Regions from separate parts of the Homo sapiens genome. Here region 2 is linked to region 1. Evidence: promoter capture Hi-C in 16 types of primary human blood cells and fetal thymus (Javierre and others, 2016). All regions are on one chromosome and are shown on one strand. The core of a region is centred on a gene start or on the middle of the fragment in contact, and the rest is flanking DNA. Distances in the headings are between cores, read along the strand shown.

Region 1 (5,906 bases), core at 971-3,470:
CACATACATGTGACATATATGCTATATATATGTGCCATGTAGATAGGATATCTATGTGATATATATGTTATCTAGAGAGCATATATATGATATTTATAGATATATAGATATCTATGTGATATATATGCTATTTAGATAGCATATCTATGTGATAGATATGCTATATATAGGGCATATGTATTTGGTATAGATATGCTATATATATGCTGTCTAGATAGCATATCTATGTGATATATATATGCTATCTAGATATATGATAGATATGCTATTTATAGGGCATTTGTATCCGATATATATATGCTATCTAGATAGCATATCTATGTGATCTGTGTAGATAGCATATATGTATATTTTATATATATATGTTTATATATTTGAGACAAGATCTCACTCCAATTTCCCAGGCTGAAGTGCAGTGGCATGATCTCGGCTCACTGCAACCTCTGCCTCCCAGGCTCAGCTGATTCCATCACCTTGGCCTCCTGAATAGCTGAAATTACAGGTGCCTGCCTGTAAAAAAAAAAAAAACGCGAATTATTTTTGTTTTTTTAGTGGAGGTGGGGTTTTTGCCATGTTACCCAGGTTGGTTTCAAACTCTTGGACTCAAGCAATTCGACTTCCTTGACCTCCCAAAATGCTGAGATTACAGGGGGAAATCACCGCACCCAGCTTGTATACCATATTTTAACATCCAATCATCTGCTAATGGACACATAAGTTGATTCCATAACTTTGCTATAGTGAATAGTGCTGCCATAAACATGTAAGTGTGGATGTCTTTTTAATATAATGATTTCTCTTCCTTTAGGTATATACTCAGCAGTGGGATTGCTGGATCAAAGGGCAGTTCTATTTTTAGTTCTTTGAGAAATTGCCATCTGTTTCCCTAGAGGTTGTACTAATTTGCATCCCCACCAACAGTGTATAAGCTTTCCCTTTTCTCTGCATCCTTGCCAACCTCTGTTTTTTTTTCTTTTTACTTTTAAAATAATAGATATTCTGTATATATATATCTCTCTTTTTCTAAAGAGACTGAGCCCCACTTTGTGGCCCAGGCTGGAGTGCAGTGGGGGGATCATGGTTCACTGCAGCCTCCAACTCCTGATATCAAGCCATCCTTCTGCCTCAGTCTCCCAAAAAGCGAGGACTATAGGCGCACGCCACCACACTTGGCTAATTTTTAAATTTTGTGTAAAGACAGAGTCTTGCTAACATTGCCCAGGCTGGTCTCAGACTCCTGGGCTCAAGCAGTCCTCCCACCTCAGCCTCCCAAAATGGTGAGATTATAAGCCTGAGCCACTGCACCCAGACTCATTGTGTGTGTGTGGTTGGTTTTTTTTTGGGGGGGGGGCAGACTTTTGATCTTGTTTCCCAAGCTGGAGTGCAGTGGCATGATCTCGACTCACTGCAACCTCTGCTTCCTGGGTTCAAGCGATTCTTCTGCCTCAGCCTCCCGGGTAGCTGGGATTACAGGTGCGTGTCACCACACCCGGCTAATTTTTGTATTTTTAGTAGAAATGGGGTTTCACCATGTTAGCCAGGCTGGTCTCAAAGTCCTGACCTCAGATGATCCACCCGTCTCGCCCCCACAAAGTGCTGGGACCACAGGTATGAGCCACCGTGCCCGGCCTCTCATTGTGATTTTAATTGGCATTTCTCTGATGATTGACTCTAAGAGCCTCTAGAACAGGAAGCATGCTAGTCTTGTATCCTCAGTGTCTGTATAGTTCATAGCACATAGTGGGTCCTTAATACACATAGGATAAAGAAACGGATGGAATCAATCACATGCTATGATCATCTTACTTGATTTTTTTTTGTGAGATGAAATTTTCATAAATACAATGAATGATTTTAAGGTGCACAATTCAGAGGCATTAACACCTTCACAGTGTGGTGCAATCACCACTTGTATCGAATTCTAGAACACTTCACCAATCCCCAAATAAAACCTCATCCCCACGAGCGCTCACTCTCATTCCCCTGTCCCCTCAGCTCCTGGTAACCACTCATCTGCTCCCTGTCTCTGTAGATTTGCCTGTTCTGGACATTTCATGTCAATGGAGTCTCACACTATGTGGCCTTTTGTATCTGGTTTCTCTCACTCAGCATCGTGTTTTCCAGATTTGTCCATGTTGTAGCACGGATCAGTGCTTCTGTCCTTTTCATGGCTGAATCATATTCCATTGCATTTATATACCATAACTTTGTTTATCCATCTGACCAATGATGGACATTTGTTTTTCACTTGTGAGCTTCATGAGGGCATTGACCTCGCCTCTCCTATTTACCATTGTATTCCACTACCGAGCACCCAGCACAGATAGTGGCTCATGGCAAGCACTCAATACGTACTTATTAGAGGAATACGTAAGTGGAAGAATCAATACATGTTTTATTTTTATTTTATTTTATTTTTTCAGACAGGATCACACTCTGTCACCCAGGCTGGAGTGCAGTAGCACGATCATGGCTCACTGCAGCCTCAACCTCCTGGACTCAAGGGATCCTCTCACTCTCAGCCTCCTAAGTATCTAGGACTACGGGCATGTGCCACCATGCATAGCTTATTTTTAAATTTTCTTTTCTTTTCTTTTTCTTTTTTTTTTTTTGTAGAGACAGGGTCTTGCTATCTTTCCCTGGCTGGTCTTGGTCTCCTGGCCTTAAGTAATTCTCCTGCCTCGGCCTACAAAGGTGCTGGGATTACAGGCATGAGCCACCGTGCCTGTCCAAATATTTTCGTATTGAGTGAATGAGAGGTGCGACAGTCAAGAAAGAATGAATGACCCTGGGTTTGTAATCAAGGGATCATTCAGTAATGGGGGGTGGGGGGAATAAGATGGGCAACCAGCGACTCCCACGCCAGCCATCCTGGAGACCCGCCGTTATGTTCTTTAGGGCCACTAGCAAGAAATGGGGCCAGATAACCTTTGGCGATGGAGGCTTGGGAATATGGGGTTAGCACAGTCATTTGCTGCTGGGACCAGTGGTATCTGGTTCAACAAATTTTCATGAGCATCAGGAGGATATTATGGTCTGTATTCTGGATCCAGATGAACTAGGATTCAAATTATGATTCTGCCACTTGCTGTCTACGTGATCTCGAGCAATTCACTTAACATCTCTGTGCCTGCGTTGCCCCATCTGTCAACTCAGGTAATAGGATTGTGGCATGGAGACAATGAGTTAATATGAATGAAGTGCTTAGCACCATGGCTGACACCTAGTAAGCATTATGTAAGTGTTTACTTTTGACTTTTATTAATAGAATGAATCCATGAATGAGCTATTTCAAAACCAGAAGAGGTCCAGAGAGGGTTTCACAAAGAACCAGGGAGACACCTCATGTGAGATGACCTGCACACAACCATCTACCTTTGCTTTGTTCATGAAGTACGTCCACCTTCCCAACCAGGGGATCTCATTTGGGTAGGCTTGCTGCCTGGTGTATGAAGCACCTCTGTTGGGCAGAACTTGTACCAAGCTACCTGAGAGACGCTTAGGAAGCTTCCTCATGCCAGATCTGCATGTGAGGATTTTGGCTTCCACATGGCTCTCTGGTGAAATGCATTAGGGCTATGCAGGCTGTTACATTCTGGCTTTTTATTAGTTTAACACGCTGACACCAACACGCTGCTAGTATATGATACTATTATCTAAGCATTGAAATTGGTGCAGACCATTGCTTAATCAGACCAACTTCTCATTTCCATCTCCCAATCCCAGTTTCCATTCTCTATATCAACTTCCAAAAACTCACTGCTAGCTCCTGGCTTTGATGACCCATTTTGGACACTTCTCTAGCCTGATATGTATTTGAAGAACAGGTGAGTTATCTGGTTTTTTTGTTTTTTTGTTTTTGTGAGAAGGAGTTTCACTCTTGTTGCCCAGGCTGGAGTGCAGTGGCGCGATCTCGGTTCACTGCAACCTACGCCTCCCAGGTTCAAGTGATTCTCCTGCCTCAGCCTTCTGAGTAGCTGGGATTACAGATGCCCACCACCACGCCCAGCTAATTTTTTGTATTTTTAGTAGAACAATTTGTTCACCATTGTTGGCCAGGCTATTCGTGAACTCCTGACCGCCACCGTGCCCTGCTTTTTTTTTTTTTTTTTTGAGACAGGGTCTTGCTTTGTCACCCAGAGTAGAGTACAGTGGTACCATCATGGCTCACTGCAACTTTGAACTCCTGGGCTTAAACAATCCTCCTGCCTCAGCCTCCTGGGTAGCTGGCCCTATGGGCATGTGCTACCATGCCTGGCTAATTTAAAAATGTTTTTGTAGAGACACGATCTTGCTATGTTGCCCAGGCTAGTCTCAAACTCCTGGACTCAAACAATCCTCCCGCCTTGGCCTACCAAAGCTCTGGGGTTTCAGATGTGAGCAACTGTGCCTGGCCTGTCTGGAAGGAACCATTCATTGCTGGGCTGGGATTAGCTCTCATTTTCCAAGTGATTCACCTGCGTGTGTCTGAACAGAAACAGTGATGTTCAAAAAATCTACAGAAACATTATGTACACAAGACCGAGGACTAGGAAAATTTTTCAGTACTCTCCAAGCCTAAATACCTCTCTTAAACTAACAAATAAGCTATGAAAGCAAGGTATGCACCTTGTATAAAATGTATAAAATATGGGAAACATAATGAAATGAATAAGAATCTTTTTTTTTTTTCTGGAGACAGAGTCTCACTCTGTCACCCAGGCTGAAATGAAGTGGCACAATCTTGGCTCACTAAAGCCTCCAACTCCTGGTCTCAAGAGATCTCTTGCTTCAGCCTCCTGAATAGCTGGAACTACAGGTGCATGCCATCACAATTGACTTTTTTTTTTTTTTGTAGAGGTGAGGTCTTGCTATGTTGCCCAGTCTGGGTCTTGAACTCCTGGCTTCAAGCCATCCTCCTGCCTCACCCTCTCAAAGTGCTGGGATTATGGCCACAAGCCACCATGGCCAGCCTTATTTTTTGTTTTACTATCCAGAGATACTTATTCTGAACTTGATCTTGATTTCACTCTAACCATTTCCACATTCATTCCCCCACCATGCCTCTGTGTGTGTGTGTGTATGTGTGCATGCATATACACAACTATACATATTTCCCTTCTCCCAATATACTGAAGCCCAAATACTTCTAACTCAGGCCAATAGGGAGTTATATTTCTTTGTGAAATTAGCTCTCTGATTTTTATTTATTTTATTTATGCATTATTAATTTTTTTAGAGACAGAGTCTTGCTCTGTTGCTCACGCTGGAGTGCAGTGGTGTGATCTTGGCTCACTGCAACCTCCTCCTCCTGGGTTCAAGCAATTCTCCTGCCTCAGCCTGCTGAGTAGCTGGGACTACAGGGGCCCACCACCACGCCCAGCTAATTTTTTGTATTTTAATAGAGATGGGGTTTCTCCATGTTGCCCAGGTTGGTCTCGAGCTCCTGAGCTCAGGCAATCCACCCGGCTTGGCCTCCCAAAGTGCTAGGATTACAGGCATGAACCACCACACCTGGCAGCTCTCTTGATTTTTATAATAAAGAACACTTTATAGAAATTCCTTTTTGCAACTTTGCTGGGGCCACCTGTTCTATATACTGATTCATGCAATGTAGGGAGCAGAATTCTGCTTTTGGGCGAAATCGAGTGAAATTGCAGAATGGATGAAGAAGGAGCACCTTCTAAAACTTCTAGCCTTTTTTCTTTTCTTTTCTTTCTTTTTTTTTTTTTTGGCATTACATGGAGATGCCCTTCGCTGTGAAATCTTGGCAGGTAATTATCAGAGACCCCTTTTTAGGTTCCCCGATGTCTTCCCTTCTGGGACACCAGGTTCTACTTTTAGTAGGTGCCCCTCTTTCTCTTGGAGATAATCACATCAATTGGTCTCTCATTCCAGGGGGATATGACCTAGAATCTGTTTTGTCT
Region 2 (5,699 bases), core at 2,264-4,763, 940 kb before region 1:
GAAGAAGACATAGAAAAAGCAAACAGGCATATTAAAAGATCCTGAACATCATTGATTTAGCAGAGAAATGGAAATCAAAACTACAATAAGAAATCATCTTATCCCAGTAAAAATGGCTTCTATCCAAAAGATAGGAAATAACAAATGCTGGTGAGGATGAGGAGAAAAGGGAACCCTTGTACACTGTTGTTGGGGATGTAAGTTAGTACCACCACTATGGAGAACAGTTTGGAAGTCCCTCAAGAAATGAAAAAAACAGCTACCATAACATCCAGTAATCCCACTGCTGGGTATATTCCCCAAAGAAAAGAAATCAGTGTATCAAAGAGATACCTGCTGTCCTATATTTATTCCAGCACTATTCACAATAGCCAAGATTTGGAAGCAATCAAAGTGTCCATCAACAGTTGAATAGATAAAGAAAATGTGGTACATATACATGATGGAGTACTATTCAGAATGAGATTCTGTCATTTGTAACCACATGGATGGAACTTGAGGACAATATATTCAGTAAAATACGCCAGACACAGAAAGACAAACTTTGCATGGTATCACTTATTTGTGGAAGCTAAGAATTAAAACAATTGAACTTATGAAGATAGAAAGTAGAATGGGTAACAGAGGCTGTTAAGGGTAGTTGGGGCTTCCGGGGGAAGTGGGAATGGTTATTGGGTACTAAAAAATAGTAGGAATGAAGATTAAGACCTAGTAATTGCTAGCATAACAGAGTGACTATAGTAAGAAACGATTTAGTTAATTATTAATTAAAACGCATCAATTAAAATACAGAGATTGTCACAGGGGGTCAAAAAAATAAGACTCAGATATAAGTTTTTTTTTTAACAAGAAAACCCTGTAAATATAAAGGCATATATAAGTGAAAAGTAAACAGATGGAGAAAGATATACCATAGCAACATGAGTCAAAAGAAAGTGGAAGAAAAAGGTAACAAAGTGGTTAACACTCACAACAGCTTGGCTCTTGGAAAAATTTTTGATTTATTTGTATAGAAAGTTCTGCTTCTGTAGCACTTTCATAGGACACATTTAATGCCATTTCCATCATTAACTATGTCACTTCATCATCTGTGACCATATGCCCAGAGGGTCTCTCACTGGTTGCTATGGTGCAACCATAGCAGACATGCAACGATGAGAAGCACACATGCGAGTCTTGCCCAGAGTATGCAGGATAAGGGAAAGGATAGTTTGTTTTTGTTTGGAGTTTTATAACATAAACAAAGAATAAAACTTCTTCCAACCATGTCACCTTTTGACTTTTTAAGGCCATGATCTCTGCTTTCCTAGAATGAAATCTCTTTCCATGTTGACCTTCACATTCCAGCAGCAGCAGGAAGCACAGGTGAATGGCACTATGAGTAGCATTAGAAGAGCAGTCACACTGTAAAAATAATATTCATTCCTCAGCTGGTGGAACCAATGGCCAGAAACAGAAAACCAGAAAATTGATACATCCATTGGAGGCAAGGAAGTACATATCTTAGAATGACACATTGAGACTGCAGAGCAACTGTGTCAAAAACGCTGGGATGAGACACGTGGCTATCTTATTAGGCTACCTTATTAGCCCTATTATTAGGACATATTAAAGCCCTATTACCAACCTCCTTTTTTCTATTTTGCCCCAAATTCTTAGTTATTACATTTCCTGTACAGATAAAAAATTTAAAGAACTCTCTTTTTACTTGACACCTGCTTTCTCTCTCTCCCTCTCTCTCTCTCTGTCTTTTGCTCTTTCTTCTGTCTCTGTATCTCTCTCTCTTTCTTCTGTCTCTGTCTCTGTATATATGTATACATATATATGTATACATATATATGTATATATGTATACATATGTATGTATATATATATATGTATATATGTATACATATGTATGTATATATATATGTATACATATATATGTATATATATATGTGTGTGTGTATATATGTATGTGTATATATATATATATCTCCTTCTTGCCCTCTCTCAACGTTTGCATTCTAACATCTTTCATTCAACTCAACATATTAATATCCACACACAAACTTAGGGTATATCTCTCCCAAAGACAGTGAGGAACTTTAAATAAGAAACCAGTTTATCTGAGGCAAATAGTTTATTTTCCTTTGTACATTTCTTCTAATTAAAAGGATAATATTTATAAAACACTGGACACAGTGCCAATACATAGAAAAAGCTCAGTGCTGGGTGGCATTTATGACTATCATGTTATTCTTGCTTTTTCTTACACTAGGGGAAAATAAAATCTTTTTTGCCTGTCCATTCAAGAAGAACTGTGTTCATAAGTGCCCAGACACATCCACGTGATGATCCCCACCTGTCCGTGGACAGAAAACACATTTCTAGGCACAGATAATGGGATAAAGGTCATCATAATGGCTCATAAAGAAAAGATTATGATCACTTGAGCTTAAGCAAAAAGGGAAGGGAAAACAATAGCTAGTATGTATCAAACACATATTTTCACATACCTGAACACTTACAACAGCCCTATGGAGATACACATTATTATATTTCATCACCACCAAACTGGCGCTCAGGAACTTGGAGGACAGAATTTTCTGTAAAAGTTTTTATTTATGGCATTCTTCAGCTCCTTGTTCCTTAGGCTGAAAATGATTGGGCTAAGGAAGGGGGTGAAGACAGTATAGGTGGTGGCCATCAAGGCGTCACTGTACATAGAATGGAGGCCCTTGGGCTTGAGGTAGATAAAGGAGGCAAAACTATAGTGCGTGACCACCACAGTGAGGTGGGATACACACGTAGAAAATGTCTTGTGCCGGCCTTCGGCAGAGGGAATCCTCAAGATGGCAGCCACAATGAAGACATAGGAGAGGATGATGAGGAATAAACAGCCTATCAGGGCTGTGACACACACCAGCATCACACCCATGATGACAGATGATGTCTTGTTTTCACAGGCCAACTTCAAGAGGGAAAGCACATGACAGAAAAAATGGTGGATCACATTAGACCCACAGAAAGTGAGGTGGAAAACTATCGTTGTCACCATCATCCCCATGACTGAGCCACCAGCCCAGGTACAGGCCACAAGATGGGCACAGTCACGGGGGCTCATGAGCACATTGTAACGCAGTGGGTGGCAGATGGCCACATAGCGATCATAGCCCATGACCAGGAGAAGGAAGGAGTGAGTGAAGCCAAACATGAAGGAGAAGAACATCTGGTTGGCACAAGCCACAAAGGTGATGGAATGATGGGTGGAAAGCAGATCAGCCAGCATGCGAGGGGTGATGGCAACAGTGAACAGAATCTCAGAGACGGAGAGGGTGCACAAGAAGAGGTACATGGGTGTGTGGAGTCTGTGTTCAATCCAGATTGTGGCCATGATGAGAAGGTTGCCCAGCAATGTGAACAGGAACATCAGGAGGTACAGCAGGAACAAGATGGGCAGGAGGTGCTGGGGGAAGGCTGAGAAGCCAAAGAGGTTAAATTCAGATATGATGCTATAGTTCTGACTAGGCATGGATACTGTATCTGGTGAGATCAGAAACAAAATTAAGTGACAGTGGTTAAAACATAGACTCTATCACAGACCAAATGGCAACTCAACAGCTCTATGCTATTCAACAACCAGCAGAATTTTCTGGGTCTCACTTTCCTCATCTGTAAAATGGAATAAATAATAATAGTTCTTAACATTCAGCAATGTGACAAAGATCAAATGAGATCACTATATTAGATGATCAAGTCAGATTTTGGCTACTAATTGGGTTTCTATTAACACTGACTAACATAAAGAAAAGGTTCAATACTTGGAGCCATTAGAGACCAGCATAGATGATCAGGGTCAGGTTCTCTTGATAATGTGCCAGTTCTAGAAAACATGTATTTTGATCTTGGGGTTTAAATCTTTTTTCCCTGGGAGTCTTTGTCTTTTAGTTGCTTATTTAACCCATTTACATTTATTTTAATACTGTTTTATTGGTACTCATTTATGCCATCTAATTTCAAATGGTGCATTTACTATTCTAAAAAAATTGAACAGAAAATTTGAAAAGAAATGGCTGGATACATACATGTCAGACAAATATGCACCAAATAAAAGCTGAGGTTGCAATCTTAATAATAATAAAAGGTGGAATCTAAGGAAACAGTGATCACAATGTCTTTAATACCATATGCCACTGCAGGGAACCAGAGTTCCTTGAGACATGGCAAATCTGTGATCTGGACATGGAAGAAAGCCTTGGATATCTTGTACCAGTGTGAAATGAAACCTTCACTAAGTAATGGGATAATATTAAAAGACTGCAAGTACTAGATTGAAAAGATGCCCACTAGTCAAAAAGAATAATCATTGTACAGAAGATGGAGGAATAAGCTAAATGACAATGTGAGGAAGCTTTCAGAAAAATTCAGAAGGTGGATAATTCCACAGAACAATTGGTCTGGTCTCATTGATAAAGGCTCATCCAAAAGATAAGAGAGATTCGGGGACATAGCAACTGGATGCAACATAGGGGACCAGTTGAATCTTCATTTCCATAACCAGCTGTAAGTATTTTTAAGGCAATGGAGAACATTTTGATTATAGTATGAATGAATGATTAGGTATGAGTAATATTAAAGCATTATTATTGATCTAATTACTAATTATTTAGAGACAGGTCTTGCTCTGTCCCCCAGGTTAGAGTAGGATCGTGATTCACTGCATCCCGGAACTCCTGGGCTCAAGCAATCCTCTGCCTCAGCCTCCTAAATAGCTGGGACTACAGTTGTGTGCCACCTCACCTGTCTAATTAAAAAAAAATTTTTTCCATAGAGACTGGGCCTCACATTCTTGCCCAAACTAGTCTCTAACTCCTGGCCTCAAGTGATCTTCCTATGTCATCCTCCCAAAGTGCTGGGATTACAGGCATGAGCCACCATGCCCAACTAATTATTTTTTAAAAGTGCAATCTGGTTATTTCGGCTGTGAAGAAAAATGTTGTTTCTTGATGCATGCTAAAATTTTGAAATCACACACGCTAAAGGATAGAGAATAATATTCATACCATTTAAAAGAACATTATAGCAATCAGCATAAATATAATGTCTACATTACTATATATCCTGGAATATTAAGGATAATAATCCTGGAATAATAACTAAATCAATGACAGATAGATATTATAGTTAGAAAGTTTAACAGAGTTCAGAAATGTAATTTATTAATTATTAATTGCAATGCAATTAATAATTACAATGCAATTAATAAATATTAGCTATTATATATTAGACTCTTCACCAGAGAATAAATATTTTTTCAAGCACATGGATACTTTTACAAAAACTGACATTTCATTAAGATATAAAAAATTCTTTAATTCCAAAGTATAAATGTTATTTAAATGATAATGCATTAACATTAAAAATTAATAGAGAAGAAATAGCTTTTCAAATCTCATATGCTTGGAAGCTAACTATATAATTGAATAATCTTCAGGTTCAACAGTAAATTATAAAAATTAAGAAAGCTTTAGAATTAAATGATTATTCAAATATTGAATGTCAACATTTTAACCTAAAATAGTACTTTGAGGGAAATACATGGCACTAAATAGATTTATCAAGAAACTGCCTCAAGAAAAGTTCATGCTTAATAAAGCCAAAATCACGCATGAGAAAAGATTGAGAAGATAGAGGGAAACAAGGAGAAGGTGCCAATAA

Evidence for each region. Contacts are between HindIII fragments. The CHiCAGO score rates a contact against its expected background, and 5 or more counts as called.
Region 2: the fragment with the promoter of OR10H4 here is called in contact with a fragment that was not itself captured in region 1 in 1 of 17 cell types (M2 macrophages); the score reaches 5.9 in M2 macrophages.

Annotation. Positions count from the first base shown.
Region 1 is chr19:15,003,467-15,009,372 of GRCh38, reverse strand. It overlaps a transcript of SLC1A6 not described here. Among named protein-coding and RNA genes, the nearest start is that of TEKTL1, 4.3 kb to the left of the region's middle. The HindIII fragment of the contact is 2,578 bases long and covers 932-3,509 here.
Region 2 is chr19:15,946,822-15,952,520 of GRCh38, reverse strand. OR10H4 (olfactory receptor family 10 subfamily H member 4) reads right to left here and starts at 3,513. Exons shown (of 1, transcript NM_001004465.1): 1 at 2,563-3,513. The coding sequence starts at 3,513. The coding sequence ends at 2,563. The HindIII fragment of the contact is 16,967 bases long and covers 1-4,394 here.